Linked DNA regions of Homo sapiens: regions 2, 3, 4 and 5 are each linked to region 1. Evidence: promoter capture Hi-C in human tissues and cell types (Jung and others, 2019). All regions are on one chromosome and are shown on one strand. Each heading gives the region's core, a stretch centred on a gene start or on the middle of the fragment in contact. The rest is flanking DNA. Distances are from core to core; before and after follow the strand shown. Region 1 holds the start of SH3GLB2 (SH3 domain containing GRB2 like, endophilin B2). Region 2 overlaps SPTAN1 (spectrin alpha, non-erythrocytic 1). Region 3 overlaps SPTAN1 (spectrin alpha, non-erythrocytic 1). Region 4 holds the start of PKN3 (protein kinase N3). Region 5 holds the start of ZER1 (zyg-11 related cell cycle regulator).

Evidence for each region. Contacts are between HindIII fragments. The study calls those that stand out against the background at their distance.
Region 2: a contact is called between a fragment that was not itself captured here and the fragment with the promoter of SH3GLB2 in region 1, in 1 of the 25 tissues and cell types used here (dorsolateral prefrontal cortex).
Region 3: a contact is called between a fragment that was not itself captured here and the fragment with the promoter of SH3GLB2 in region 1, in 1 of the 25 tissues and cell types used here (lymphoblastoid cells).
Region 4: the fragment with the promoter of PKN3 here is called in contact with the fragment with the promoter of SH3GLB2 in region 1 in 2 of the 25 tissues and cell types used here (dorsolateral prefrontal cortex and stomach).
Region 5: a contact is called between the fragment with the promoter of ZER1 here and the fragment with the promoter of SH3GLB2 in region 1, in 1 of the 25 tissues and cell types used here (dorsolateral prefrontal cortex).

Annotation. Positions count from the first base shown.
Region 1 is chr9:129,026,857-129,029,750 of GRCh38, reverse strand. It overlaps SH3GLB2 (SH3 domain containing GRB2 like, endophilin B2), which reads left to right and starts at 1,420. Exons shown (of 11, transcript NM_020145.4): 1 at 1,420-1,659. The coding sequence starts at 1,597. RefSeq lists enhancers at 1-443, 444-1,183, 1,868-2,431, 2,432-2,894 and silencers at 1,058-1,487, 1,528-2,037. The HindIII fragment of the contact is 26,388 bases long and covers 1-2,894 here.
Region 2 is chr9:128,607,164-128,610,057 of GRCh38, reverse strand. SPTAN1 (spectrin alpha, non-erythrocytic 1) reads right to left here. Exons shown (of 57, transcript NM_001130438.3): 32 at 2,355-2,454; 33 at 2,009-2,206; 34 at 1,782-1,928; 35 at 1,081-1,184; 36 at 774-936; 37 at 393-407. Among named protein-coding and RNA genes, the nearest start is that of DYNC2I2, 48 kb to the left of the region's middle. The HindIII fragment of the contact is 5,536 bases long and covers 1-2,894 here.
Region 3 is chr9:128,625,575-128,628,468 of GRCh38, reverse strand. SPTAN1 (spectrin alpha, non-erythrocytic 1) reads right to left here. Exons shown (of 57, transcript NM_001130438.3): 48 at 2,491-2,700; 49 at 1,782-2,078; 50 at 971-1,083; 51 at 527-544. Among named protein-coding and RNA genes, the nearest start is that of DYNC2I2, 30 kb to the left of the region's middle. RefSeq lists an enhancer at 802-1,447. The HindIII fragment of the contact is 6,522 bases long and covers 1-2,894 here.
Region 4 is chr9:128,700,995-128,703,888 of GRCh38, reverse strand. PKN3 (protein kinase N3) reads right to left here and starts at 1,386. Exons shown (of 22, transcript NM_013355.5): 1 at 950-1,386. The coding sequence starts at 973. RefSeq lists an enhancer at 570-1,109 and a silencer at 924-1,493. The HindIII fragment of the contact is 13,608 bases long and covers 1-2,894 here.
Region 5 is chr9:128,770,543-128,773,436 of GRCh38, reverse strand. It overlaps ZER1 (zyg-11 related cell cycle regulator), which reads left to right and starts at 1,510. Exons shown (of 16, transcript NM_006336.4): 1 at 1,510-1,856. LOC124902282 (a long non-coding RNA gene) reads right to left here and starts at 2,103. Exons shown (of 2, transcript XR_007061804.1): 1 at 1,889-2,103. RefSeq lists enhancers at 419-1,145, 1,874-1,923 and a silencer at 1,214-1,683. The HindIII fragment of the contact is 13,726 bases long and covers 1-2,894 here.

The DNA.
Region 1 (2,894 bases), core at 171-2,670:
TGAGCCCCAAGGGAAGGCATTTGGGGTCAGGAGCACCTGTAGGTCATCTCCTTGCCTGGGGCTGTGAGGAGCTGGTTTCAAGGTTATCACACATCTGTGCTCCCAGGGCAGCTCATTCTCTCCACCCTGACAGTCACCCAACCTTTGATCTCCTCCTCTCACCACACAGGGGGCTCCAGGCCCCAGCTCCAGAACCCCCTCCCTTCCCGTGACCGCCACCCCAACCCTCCTCCAATTTGGGGAAGCCACAGGGCCTCCCAGGCTGACAAACAGCTGTTCCAGCGGTGGAGGGCAAGTCCCAAGCCTGACTCCGGCTCAGTCACCAAGGTCAGGGCAGAAGAGAGGAGGAGAGGTCAGAGAGGAGGAGTAACGGGAGGAAACCCAAGGGAAACAGAGTGGAAGAAATGGGAATGGGAGGGAGGGGGTGTGAATAAAGAGCGGAGATGAAGAGGCACAAACAGGGGAGAGGCAGCAGGCCTGGGTGGTGGGAGGAGAAAGCAAGAGAGGCCCATTTTAGAGATCTGTTGCACATATTGGTGACTACTCAGTCACTTAGTGACTTTGGGAGACTGAGGCAGGCAGATTGCCTGAGATCAGGAGTTCAAGACCACCCTGGGCAACATGGCAAAACCTTGTCTCTCCTAAAGTACAAAAAATTAGCGGGGCATGTTGGTGGGCGCCTGTAGTCCCAGCTACTCGGGAGGCTGAATGAAGCAGGAGAATCGCTTGAGCCCGGCAGGTGGAGGCTGCAGTGAGCCGAGATCGCGCCACTGCACTCCAGCCTGGGCGACAGAGCAAGACTCTGTCTACAAAAAAAAAAAAAAAGTATTGCATATTTCAAAATTGCTAAAAGAGTACATTTGAAATGTTCTAACCACAAAAAAAGTAGGTGAGGTGATGGATATGTCAATTAACTTGATTTCATCATTCCACAATTTCATCACCTTGTAGGCCGTAAATATATATTTATCAATTAAAACTTTTGAAAAGCATTGGTAAGATGGCAAATAATATGTAATTATGGCGTGTACCTGCAATCATCTAAGAGCACATGTGTTCCAGTTTTAATAATTTTAGTAAAAGGAAAAAAAGAGGCCGGCCCAATCCGCGGCGGCAGGCGCATGGGGGCAGCAGCGAGCACTGCCCAGCAGCGAGCCCTGCCCAGCACAACCTGCTCCCCAGACCAACCCCCGCTCTGGCCGCGCCAAGGCCTCGCCCCCACCCATGTAGCTCCGCCCCACTGCCCTCTCGCTCCGCCCCTGTCCCGCCAGTCCCGCCCCCTCCGACTCCGCCCGGCTTCCGCCAACCAGCCCGGCCCCCGCCCCTCTAGCTCCGCCCCACTGCCGTCCCGTCCCGCCCCGGCACCGCCAGCTCCGCCCCCGCCCCTCTGGCTCCGACCCGCGGCCTCCGCGCCCCGCCCTGCGCGCTCGGGCTGGCTCGGCGGCTGCGGCGGGCGGGCAGGCGGGCAGGCCGGCAGGCGGGTGCGCGGAGGGCTGGTGCCCCGCAGCAGGTGGGCGGGGTGCGGTTGGCGGCGGCGGCTGGGCCGGGGGCTGCCGGCTGCGCTCGGGCCGTGCGCGGCGGCCGTGCGGGCACGCCATGGACTTCAACATGAAGAAGCTGGCGTCGGACGCGGGCATCTTCTTCACCCGGGCGGTGCAGGTGAGGCCTGGCGTCGCGCCGTGCGCCGGGGGCCCGGATGTGCGGCGGGCGGGGAGCACCCTGCGGCAGACGCCTGGGGACGCGGGAAAGCCCTCCCGGGCTGCTGCCCTCGTCCCCGCCGCGGCACACCTCTGCCCCCCTGAGCCCTTGCTGACCGGAAGAGGGAAAGAGCCCGTGCGGCCCGAGCCGGGCCTTGGCCCTGCTGCCTGGGGCGAGGCACCGGTGCCCACCCTTTGGGCTGGTTGGGTTACCCTGCTCCCCTGGCGCCTGCCTGGCTGAGGAGGGGAGGAGGCACCGGCTGGGTGCTACCTCCCTGCCCTTGTCCAGCAGTGACTGGCGCCTGGCGGGGCATTTAGCGACCTGGGTCCCAGGCCCAGGGACTCATGCGTCCACCACAACCCCTTCTCCGAGCCTCAGTCTCCGCACCTGTGCAATGGGCGGCTGGTGCCATGAGTCCCTCATGGCCATTTCACACGTTTGGATAGTCAGGCCGGAAGCCAGGAGTTGTTTCTTTTCTGCTCCACGGGAGGTCTGTTTCCTTGGTCCCTGGGCCTGGGGGATGGAGAGAGGGCTGGGGTCTGGCTGGGAAGCTGTCCAGGCCCACGATGCTGAGATTGGAAGAAGTCCTATCCGTTTAGGGGCAGAGAGTAACAGGCAACTCAACATCATGGGAAGACCTAGGGTCAGGTGTGGGTGGGAATGTGCCCTCCTGTGACCTTGGGGGAGGGGCCTTCATCTCACTGGGCCTCAGTTTCTCAGTCTGAAAAATGGGATCAGTATTCCTGCCTCCCAGGACAGATGCGAGGATTCTGTGGGACTCTGCATATGTGTGCTCACCAAAGGCAAGCTCATTATTGGTGTCAAAGTGGTTAATATTGCACCTGTGCAGCATGTGACCTTGGACAAGTCACTTCTCTCAGAGCCCCGCCCTCCCCTTCTGTAAATCTGGTGTAACACCGTGGTTATGGGATTCAGTGGGATTCCGCAGGCCCGGGGCTGGCCCATCCCAGGGTTCTGGGAGCAGGTCCTGTAGTCTTGTCTTTGTCGTTGTCGTTGTCATCGTTGTTGTTTCTGTTGAGTACAGTTCTCTCCCCACCCCCAACCCGGGCACTCCCCTCCCCAGGAGCCCACACCCAGCCAGCAACCCATGTAGTCATGTTTACTAGAAGGTGCTGTGTCCCGCTGAGGATTAGCATCCCAGCGAGAATTCACTGCTTAATGTGTTCCAAGTCTGG
Region 2 (2,894 bases), core at 142-2,641, 420 kb after region 1:
AACCCAGGCCACCGAACACCATGAGCTCATAGCAAGTCTGAGCCAATGTCTACACAGAAAAAGCTGAAGCTGATGTTCCATCTTCAAAAGGAAGCACTCCTTGAAAGAAAATGGTCAATTACTGCCCCGCAAATCAAACACTGTACAGAATTTGCCTAAGTGATAAACTGGGGGAGAGAAGGGGGAGTAAGGCGTTGCAGGCTAATTACAACAGAAAAAGCCACATCCCACAGGGACACTTGAATGGAGTGTAATGGATGATTAGAAATGAAAAGGATGGATGAAGAGACACCAGCAAACCGTGTGACCACAATAATAACAATAATCTACGCAGAGTAACACAAATACTGGAGCTCATTTAACTACAACTCTTAAAAAAATTAAAAACTTACCAGCAGCTTGGAAAGCTACAAAAACAGATTAAAAGAACAAGAGTTCAGTACACTGATGTGGACACACATATCAGCTATTAAATAGAAACTCATTTTGTCATACTTCCCCCAGGAAGCTCAGCATTTGGGAACAGTAATAGAAGGGGGATTCTATAGACTTTTATTACAGCAGAAATAGTTTTAATGGAGACAAATGAGGAAGGCAACTTTTAAATGGCTCTGAAACTTGACTAGGGCTTTCCCACTGGCTGGGCTTACTGAAATATTTCTCACTGACTTCCCATGGGTGCAAGGAGATTGTTTTATAAATGCTTTATTTAACAAAATCTACTCAATAACATAAGGCTACATCAAGACCAACACCCAGTCACTTCAGCTTACCTGGATGTTGGTGGGATCCTTGTACGACTCATCACTCGCTGTTTGCAATTTTTCACTGATCCAAGCCTCAATCTCATCCACATCCCGGCTGAACTGTTGGAGGGTTTGAGATTCTCCTAGCTTTGACCTTTTCTCAATCATCTGGGCTTTCAGACGTCGCCACCTGAAAGAGTGAAACCATGAGATCCAACATGAGCATATCTTACCGTGGAGAAGGAAGTGGGGAGACAGAACAGGCCTGGGCCTTCGTATGAGGGGATGCATCCTCTCAGGGCTGGTGACTATGTCAGTGCCACAGGACACCCACCTGTCCAAGACCTCATTGCGCCGGCTAGAAATGTCTCCCTTGGCATAATGGCCGGCAGCGATGAGCTGGTCGGCAAAGGCCTGCAGAGCAGCAATCTTCTCTTCCTGTCAGAAAACAAAGGCATGAGATCAAGGTGGGCCTGTGGCTGGGCCCTGCCTGGACTGCCAGTCTTGAGAAAAGGATAGTTATTTTGGGTGACTGAGAACTAGCTGGTGGCAGGATCAGAATACACTGACACTTTAGAAGCAAGAGTGTAAAATGCCAAAAGAAAGCTTGATTTCATTCATTACTAGAGTAGAGTTTAACTCAAGAAGTCTCCAGGTCACTCAGGTGGGGCAGGTGTTAGAATATCAGAACAGAACAAAATTAAGCCTGATAATAGGAAAATGCTGTCAGATTTACAGCAAAGTGACGTATAAATCAAACAGTTTTACATCTTCCTTGTTGTTTGTTCATTATTCCCTTACCTACCCACACATTTGTTTTCCATCCCTTTGATAATATTTTTTTTTCCTGTGGCACCCCCATTATTAAAATCTCAGAAATACCAGAATCTATAAAGTTTTAAAGATTATTTATGTACATATTTTTCTTAGACAACGCAGGTATTCCTTGGAGATATAACAGTGACTATATAAGCCAAGAAACAGATGTCAATCAGGAAAAATCCAGACTCCAACTCCATGGTCCAGAGGCCTCACCTGGACGTTAATCGCTTTGTCAAAGTCTTCATGTTTTTTGATCAGAGCCTCTACGCTGTCCAGTGAGTCTCCTTTGTCTTCGGTATTCAAGAAGGCCTCCCGGGCAGCCATCCAGTTCTCAGCTTGCTCACAGTCCCGATGGAACAGCTAAAGAGGGCAAGAGGCAGGTGAGAAAATGAGGCCCTTCAGCAAGGAAACACTTGGTCAGAAACCAGGAGCACACACACCTGCAGTTCAAGGCACTGATCCAGCATCATCCTGCGCTGAACCCAGGCCTTCTCCAGGTCTGCACGCTCCTGGTCAAGAATATCAAGTTTCTGCTTGATCTCAGGGCTGGCATAGTGTCCGTGAGCCAACAGCTGCTGTCCAAACTGCTCAAATGCCTGGAAAGTGCCAGCCCTGGCATCGATTTCTGTCCGGTGTTCCTGCCAAAAGGAGGGAAGGGATTAGGTAACTGGCAGCAGATGCCCACTCTGACGTCAACCACCGACTCACCACAAAGGGTGGGAATGAGGCCTCTAGGGCCCTGCAGAGCAGCCACGTCTTTGCTACTCAGCAGGCAGGTCCACCCACCTGGTGTCGCTCCAGCAATGCCTCAGCTCCGGTGACATCCTTGGCTAGCTCATCTGAGGACACCAACCCCCGTATTCCATTGATCCAAGACATGAGGTCCCTGGAAACCAGCACCCCAGAAAAATAGCTATTATATTACCTGGTAAGGAGATCTTCTGCCCAGGAAAACAGAGAATGACATAATTCTTGCCTCAGAAAGTTATCTTGGGTTAATCTGATCTACTGAATGAGGCTAGGTCTTTGGGCAAAGTGTTAAAAAACTTCTTGTTATTTTTTTAAAAGTCCGAATTTCTCAGAGGAAAAGTCAGTAGGCTTATAATTAAGATCTTTTCACCCTCCAGAATAACAAGTTCTAGCTACAATTAAGTCTTTGATAGCTTCAAATGAAAAAGCTTTTGTTGGCCAGGCGTGGTGGCTCATGCCTGTAATCCCAGCACTTTGGGAGGCTGAGGCAGGAGGATCGCTTGAGCTCAGGAATTCAAGATCAGTTTGGGCAATGTGGTGCAACCCTGTCTCTAAAAAAAAAAGAAAAAAAAGAAA
Region 3 (2,894 bases), core at 395-2,894, 400 kb after region 1:
TCTTGTTACCCTCCCTGACCCCAGGAAAGTAAAGTGGCAGCCTCAGCTACTTAGGGGGTGTCAGTGCCCAGCCCTTCTCAGCTGTGGACTTACTGTACCCTGCCTGAGCCCCCAGCACTGCCATCTGCTTCATGCCCACTGACCACTGTTGGACTCGCTGGGGAAGCAGAGGTGAGAGCCCAACAGAGCCCGGTGGCTGGACAGGCACGGGGGTTCTTAGGGCCTCTGGACTCCAGCTCTGGCCTTCGTGCTTCATCACCTTCCCTACCCAAAGTGAGCCCTTGGAATCGCCCAGTGAGGCAAGGACGGCTCCCCCTGGCTTGAAGGCTCTATCGGGGACCAGGGACCATGGGCTATGGGGCAAGGCACACACTCCTCATCAGGTGACGAGAAGGGTGGGAGGGGAAGTGCAGCCCGCCCTGGGCAGGAAGGCCCATCCCGGGATCCTCCACAAGCCAGGCCACGAGGGGCAAGCGCACGAGACCCCCACATGACAAGCCCAGAGAAGGAAGAAAACAATATTAACCCATCGAGGAGGTATGTCCTGTGGAGAGCAGATCCAAGCAGCCGGGAGACAAGGTGGTGTCCGGACAACAGCAGCAATCGGGGGGACAGAGAGAAGACACAAGAAAGAAAGGAAAACAAAAGCAAGAACATCAGTACCCAACGCACAGACCCTGCATCGTCTGTCACCAAGTCATGGCTGGGGCTGACCACGCGCCCTGCATGGTCCCACTCAATCCGGGATCTCTAACAACTTGATGTCTGGGACATGCAGCACTGAGAGGCTGCTCCACCTATGCCCCCACTCCCGGCTCCAGAGCCCGACCAGGCGTTGCCAGCCCAGCTTTATTCCCAGGCTGCCTCTGGTTTTACACAAAGCACCACCACCTCCTTGGGGCTGGAAGCTCCCCAGGGCTTAAGTACAGCAGGGACATGCTGCTGCTCCCCGGCCCCAGCGGGCTGGCACCTGGTCTCTTGGATCCACTGGTGGAAGGCGTTGGCGTGCTGGGCAAACTCCTGGCGCAGCTTGTCGTTCTCCTCCTGCCGCCGCTGTTCCTTCTGCAGCTCCAGCTCCCTCTCCTGAGGGCCAAAGGGGGGCAGATGCTGTGCGCTGCTGTGGCAGTGACACCAGCCCCTCCTTCACAGATGGGCTCAGGGTGGTGGTGGCCTCCCCACAAGGAACCTCCCCAAAGATGAGAGGAGGAGGCTGGGAGACATGAGGCCGGCTCAGAGCACTTGGTAGTTCTTTCTCTGTTCCCACCCCCCAGGGGCTTCAAGGAAGAGGCGGACCTGGAGGGAAGCGACTGGTCAGTCAAGCAGGGAGTTGCTGGACTGTCAGAAATGGAAACTTCTGGCTGGGTACAGTGGCTCACACCTGTAATCCCAGCACTTTGGGAGGCCTGGGCAGGAGGACTGCTTGAGGCCAGGAGTTGAAGACCAGCCTGGGCAACATAGCAACACCCTGTCTACAAAAATTAAAATAATTAGCCAGGCGTGGTGGCACGTGCTTGTAGTCCCAGTTATTCAAGAGGCTCAGGCAAGAGGATCACCTGAGCCTGGGAGGTTGAGGCTACAGGGAGCCATGGTAGCACCACTGCACTGAAGCCTGGGTGACAGAGACCCTGCCTCAAGAACACAAAAAGAAATGAAACTTCTGATGAAACCATGCTCCTCCATCCTGCTCGTCTTGTCGTGACTCAGTTAAGTGTGGGCTCTGAGCAGGGCCCAGAGAGGGCTCTGGGAGGCCGAGCAGCTCCTGAGGGCAGCGGGAGGTGTACCTTGATGATTTTCTGTAGGTTCCTCCAGGTCTCCTCCAGGGCCTCCATGGTAAACCAGGTGTAGGGGTTGGAGGCTACGCGGAAGCTCTTGATCTGGCGGTCCAGCTCGGCCAGCTGGTTGAAGTCAGCCTGGGCAGAGCTGAGGGAGGAGCGGAAGGCGTCGTGGGCCTCGCGCAAAGCTTTGATTTCTTCCAAGGAGTTGCAGCGCACGGGGTCTGTTAAGTCCTCCTCTGCATTTTCAAACCAGCTGTTGAAGGCAGAAGCCTTTTTGGCGAAGGTCAGGAAGAGGTCCTCCACCTGGAAGCAGAAGAGACTGAGTTGGCGGAGTCGCCAGGGCTGGACGTGCCGACGCAGTGCAGGAGGTGGGGTGCGGGGTGGTTCCTGGGAATCAGAGGCGCACACAGCCTGCTGGGAGCTTAGCTCCCCTCTGCTCCTGTCTCCTGCTCCCCCTTCAAGTCTTCACCAGCCTTTTTTCCCCTTCCTACCCTTTGCCCTTGTCTCTAGTCTGTCCTGCGTGCTTCTGAATGGCGATCTCACAGGGCCCTCTCATTTGCCCTGGTTTTAATTGATGCCAGCCACACCCATGTTTGAAAGCTCTGCACTGAGCTCACAGCTTCCTCAAGGGGGAGTGGCAGAGCTGGGCAGACAGAAGGTGGGCGTCCTTCCTTGAGCTGTGGGCCAGCTAAGCTTCACGTGGCCCCATCCTCACCTTGCGGAAGTGACTCTGAGCCTCCAGAAGCTTCTTCTTGCGGGCGGCTGAGTTGGCCAGAAGCTGGCTCCACCTCTTCATGAGGGAGGCGTGCCGGGCCTCGATGGCCTTGGACTGAACGTGTTTGGCGGCGAGAAGCTGATCTTTGAGGGCAGTGATGTTGGCAATGCCTTCCTGCTGGAAGGCCTGCAGCCCAGCGTCAAAAGTTTCCTGAACAAGGAGTGACAAGCCAATTTGTGGTGACTCCACAGGACTGGAACTTGCTCTTCCTAGGCTCAGATGGCACCAGCATGTCCCCCAGATGCCCAAGCCAAACTGTCCACCTGGACACTGCTGAGACTCAGTCACACATGCCCCCTTTCCTGCTCTCCTTCAGACCGCAGATCACTGCGGCAGCCTCCTCC
Region 4 (2,894 bases), core at 137-2,636, 330 kb after region 1:
CAGGGCGGAGCCCCGCAGGAAATCGGAAAATGTGTACAAGCTACGTCTGGAACAGGCGGAGGGACCTCCAGAGGAAGGGGGTGGGAGGGGGCAGACCGAGCCCCAGCCCTGAAGGCGGCCTAAACGACTGGCTTGGGCGCTCAAGGAGTCTACACGCACCCCGCAACACCCCCATGGTCCCGTCTGCCCTGGGTTGGAACTCCAACATGGACACACACACCACCTCCTTTCCGCTCTTTGCGGGGACCCACTCCTGTCCGCAAATGCCCCCCTCCCAACCACTCGCTCCGGAACAGGACACCACCTCTCCCTCCTCAGGAGCAGATAGACATGGCCTCGGTCCTCCGGGCCCACGCGCACCTACTGCCAGCTCTGGCAGGAAACCCAGCCCCCTCCGCATTCTAGAACCCGCTATGTACCCAAAGGTTCCCGCCCTGGGGCGGGGGAGGCCGCTCCCCTCTCATCTACGCTCCCCTCGTGCCTCCTGTGCTCCGGGAAGGACTCCTGCCACTGCCAAGCGCGCACAGACTGCGCCCCCCGCTGCGCGCACATTCTAACCCCCCCAGGCCCCTGTGCCCCGCCTTTCTATCCCGGCTAATTCCCGTCGGCCTTGGAGCCCCACCGAGGAGAACCGACTTAAGGACACTCTGGGGACCACCCTGGTGGCGCACACTGCGGACTCAGCCGTCCTCGCTCACGGGCTGGTTGGGGTTCAGTCTCCGGGTCAGCCGCGGACTGATTTGGAGACTGTGCAAGGTCCAGGAACCACCGAACCCGGAGATCAGGTCTGCTCTGCGAGGGCGTCGCGGGGCCGGGGCCAGGGCAGGGGCAGGGAAGGGGCGCGGGTGAGGGGAGGATCGGGGGAAGCGGCCGCGGTTCGGGGCTCCGGGGCGATGACAGAGGCTTTCTCGCACCCCCCGGGCCCGCGCGCCCCTCCCACGCCGTTCACCTGCCGCGGCGCCCCCTCCTCCATGGCGCCGCTCCGGCCGCTTGGGGCCCTTCTCTCAGCCACTCCGGTCCCGGAAGCCGCAGACCCTCCGCCAGGACTTTCAAACTTGAAACTTCCCGGGAAGCGGCGCCGGAGACGCGGGATCGGGCGCCCCCTCCCGAGACCCGCTGGCCCGCGGGACCAGCGCCGCCTCCCGTCCGCGCCGATCCAGCGCCCGGGACCCCACGCCCGAGGTCCCGCGCCCCAGCGCCTCCCTCGGATCCAAAATTCCGCGGGATTCTGGGCCCAGTACCCGGGCTTCGGCGCCTGCGGTTCCCGCTGGGCGTGACCGCGCCTCACCCCCGGTTTGGACGCTCAGGAGGCACATCGCCCGCGCCCAGGTCCTCTGGCCTTCCCCGCCGCGCGCCCGCGGGAGCCGGCCAGTTAGGGACAGGGATGGGGGAAACAGCGCCCCCTGAAGGTTGCCGGGTCGCCCAGCCGGGTGCAGCCGGTGGAGCTGGCCGCCTCCTCTAACTTTGAGCCCCTCTACAACCTGGCTCCCGCCTCTAACGCGCTGGGCCTCCTCGACCAAGCCCCTCAAGTCTCTCTTTGTCTCGCACGTTGTTGGTGTAATGTGGGCTAATCCAAAATTGTCTCTCTCCTCGGAGTGGTTGGCCCAGACTAGATATTAGTCACTACAAGAATGTATACTAGGCCAGGTGCGGTGGCTCACGCCTGTAATCCCAGCAGTTTGGGAGGCAGAGGTGGACGGATCACGAGGTCAGGAGTTCGAGACCAGCCTGGCCAACATGGTGAAACCCCCGTCTCTACTAAAAATACAAAAATTAGCCGGTCGTGGTGGCGGGCGCCTGTAATCCCAGCTACTCAGGAGGCTGAGGTGGGAGAATCACTTGTACCCAGTAGGCGGAGGTTGCAGTGAGCCGAGATCCTGCCACTGCCCTCCAACCTGGGTGACAGAGCGAGACTCCATCTCAAAAAAAAAAAAAAAAAAAAAAAAAGAACGTATACTTGTGGAAAAGTAAATCCTCACCCAAAATTATGATAAATTACAAATTACAGATGAATGAACCAGACCTCTCTCCGGCCCATCTCTTACTCAGACTGAGCTTGCTGGTTCAGCCCGTGCCACTTTTTAGGGCTTTACCCTAAAAAGCCCATCCATCCACACGGGAGAAAAGCCATTTACACCTGGTGAAATAGCCGCCACTATTTCAGCCCAAGGGAGGTGTGCTGGTCACTGCCTAGTCTATGGCGGGCCATTCAGCCCGTCCTGGCATCCTGCGTTTACAGGAGGTTGTGTCAGCACTTCGTGGAGGAGCGTCCTCCAGGAGGTGGGAAGGTGATGAAGGGTCAAATACCGACAGTGACTTGGAACAGACAGGCTCTGGTGCTCTTACTGAATGAAGGAAGCCACATGTTGTGCTTTGCACTAATCACTTCCTTCATAATGGACTGGAAAAAAGTGAAATTGGTGAGCCATGGACAACACTGGGTTGTCCTGCTATGGGAAATCACCCAAGTGGCATTGACATATAAGCAAAGGCAACTTGGCTCTGTGAAACATGCCCAGATTTCATAATCAGAGGCGAAATGTGACATTTACACATTAGAGTTGTTGAGGTCTAGACATTAGCAGAAGCACCTGGCACATAGTAGGTTCTTTGACATGGGGGTTGGCTGGGCATGGTGGCTCATGCCTGTAATCCCAGCACTTTGGGAGGCTGAGGAGGGCAGATCACTTAAGGTCAGGAGTTCAAGACCAGCCTGGCCAACATGGTGAAATCCCGTCTCTGCTAAAAAAAAATTAAAAAGGCAGCTGGGCGCGGTGGCTCACGCCTGTAATCCTAGCACTTTGGGAGGCCGAGGCAGGCGGATCACAAGGTCAGGAGTTCGAGACCAGCCTGGCCAACATGGTGAAACCCCGTCTCTACTAAAACTACAAAAA
Region 5 (2,894 bases), core at 261-2,760, 260 kb after region 1:
CAATCCTCCAACTTCAGCCTCCCGAGTAGCTGGGACTACAGATGCGCACCACCATGCCCTGCTAATTTTTGTAGAAATGGGGTCTCCCTATGTTGCCCAGGCTGATCTCCAACTCCTGGGCTCAAGCCTCAGCCTCGACAACCCCATCTGCTGAGATTATAGGTTGTGAGTCACTGTGCCAAGCCCAACAGCTTTTTTAAGGATTCAAGACTGTACGAACATAGTTGTAGCTGGTCAAAGATTAAAAGGTGCTATGCAAGAAAAAAGAAATCCACAAAATTAGTTCTTGGAATGGAACTGAGGCACCTGTCAAGAAAGGGTTCCTCAAGAAAGGAGCATCTAGCTAGGGTGTGGTAGCTCACGCCTGTAATCCCAGCACTTTGGGAGGCTGAGGTGGGCGCATCACCTGAGGTCAAGAGTTTGAGACCAGCCTGCCCAACATGGCGAAACCCCATCTCTACTAAAAATACAAAAATTAGCCAGACGTGATAGTAGGCGCCTGTAATCCCAGCTACTTGGAGGCTGAGGCAGGAGAATTGCTTGAACCCGGGGAGTCTGCAGTGAGCTGAGGGCCATTGCCCGCCAGCCTGGGCAACAAGAGAGAGAAACTCCGTCTCTCAAAAAAAAAAAAAAAAAAGAGAAATCCAGAGAAGAAATGATGGTGTTTTGAGATGGAGTCTTCCTCTGTCGCCCAGGCTGGAGTGCAGTGGTGCGATCTCAGCTTACTGCAAGCTCTGCCTCCTGGGTTCAAACGATTCTCCTGCTTCAGTCTCCTGAGTAGCTGGGATTAGAGGCGCGCACCACCACGCTCGGCTAATTTTTGTATTTTTAGTAAAGACGGCGTTTCACCATGTTGGCCAGGCTGGTCTCGAACTCTTGACCTCAGGTGATCCGCGTGCCTCGGCCTCCCAAAGTGCTGGGATTACAGGCGTGAGCCACTGCGCTCGGCCAGAAGGAACTGGTTTGACAGGATCCTTAGGACTTGGAGACTGGACGAGGGGCCCAGGAAAATGTAGGGGCCGAGGTCGCCGCCCAATTTCCCATTTGGAAGCTCGGTTGCCTGGTGGCGCATGCCCTAGATGGAGGTTAGGAGCACCTTTTGGGGGACGGTGATGACTGCGGGTTGACACGCGAGTGTGAGCCACCCGTGGAGAACGCAAGACATGTTCAACAGGGCGCTGGATGGAGGGGGCTGGCGCCCAGAGTCAGTCCTGCTATTCAGCAGTGTTGGGCTCAGGTGAACCGCAGCGCCAGGGCGGGCACCGATCCTAGGGTCCCACGAACAGGCCCCTCGGAGGCCAGGGAGAGCCCTGAATGACGCGTTCTCTCGGGTGGCCTGGGGGGGGCATCCCGCGGCTTCCTCCACCGGCGTAACGTGCCGGGCCCGGGGAAAGGAGCCGCCCGCCGGTCCCCGGAACCTTCTGCCGCCGCCGCCCGCGTTAGCCGCGGGACGGGTCGGGGGAACCCGATCGCTGTTGCTAAGGGGCGGCCCCGGAAGTGACGCGCCCCGGGTTTGTTGACAGCGGAGGCGGCGGCGGCTGCAGGCTCCGAGCCGTAGGAGCCGGATCGGGGGAGGGGCCGGGCCCAGGAGCCTCAGCCCCGCCGGCAGCCCTAAGGGCAAGGTAACCGCCACGGGGTCCCCGTCGCGACCCCCTCCCTCCCGGAGCTCCCGTCCCCGGGATCCCAAGCTCCGCCCCGCCGACCCCCGTCTCCCCTGGACCCCGGCTCTAGCCTGACGAGATCCCCAACCTCCTGAGGTGCTCTGGCCCCGGATTCTCCCGGGCTGCATTCTCTGCTCCTCCTCGCCTGCGAAGCATCACGTCCGCTTCCCGACGCTGAGGGCAGCCCCGTCCAGGGTAGGTCCCGGACCCCGGGCCAAGGGACGTACCTGCGTCCTCCTCCTTCGCCTCCTGCCTACGGGGCCTAAGCATCGCCGCTGCAACCACTCTCTGAGGTCCATCTCCGCCAGTGGTGGGAGGGTTCCTTTCTCTATCCCTGCCGCCAGGTCTGAGAATCGTGTCTTTAAAACTGAGCTCCCTTCCTCCAGAAAGAAAATGACGCTCTGTCGTTTGCCCCTACAAGATGGGGGATCGGTGTAGGGCTGAAAGGGCCACCCTCTGCCCCTCCTACCTGTTGGATGAGCTTAAGTTCCCCCAGAGAAGTGCTTAGAAGCTCAAGGACGACTTGGATTCTGGATCAGCTCCCAAAAGGGATGACACAAAGTATAGGGAAATCCAACAGGGTGAGGTTGCAACCGGAGGGCCAAGGGAGCCCGACAGGTGAGTTGATAGTGAAACTGACTGTGCTGGCCACTATAGCTCTCTGGGTGGAACTTGTCTTGGCTGCTCTTTGACCGAAAGAGCCCAAGATTTCCAGTCTTTGCCTGTGTTTGTCAGTCCATTCGTTTTGTTTTGTTTTGTTTTTCTTTAAATAGAGATGGGGTCTCACTATGTTACCCAAGCTGGTCTCGAACTCCTGGGCTCAAGTGATCCGCCCGCTCCAGCCTCCAAAAGTGCTGGAAATACAGGCATGAGCCACCGCGCTCAGCTAGTGCATTTGATTTTTAAGGGGGAGGGGAATGGAATGTCTGATGTCTTGGGAAAATCCTTCCATATATGATCTTTCACAGAATGTTTCTCTTCAGACTTCAAACTGGTTAGGATGAGCATAAAAGCATAGCCTTGAAAAGGGTCACGGGAGGCTATACTTAGAGCAGAAAGTGGTGGCCAGGGGTGAAGGGCCTCGCTACTTTGGTTCATTTGTTCATTCAGCAAATAATAAACATGATATGTAAGGAGGTAATAAGTGGTTTGGAGAAAAATAGAGAAGGAAGGACCATGGGGAAGGAGTTGGGAGTTGTCATTTTATAGAGGGTGTTCAGGGAAGGTCTCTAG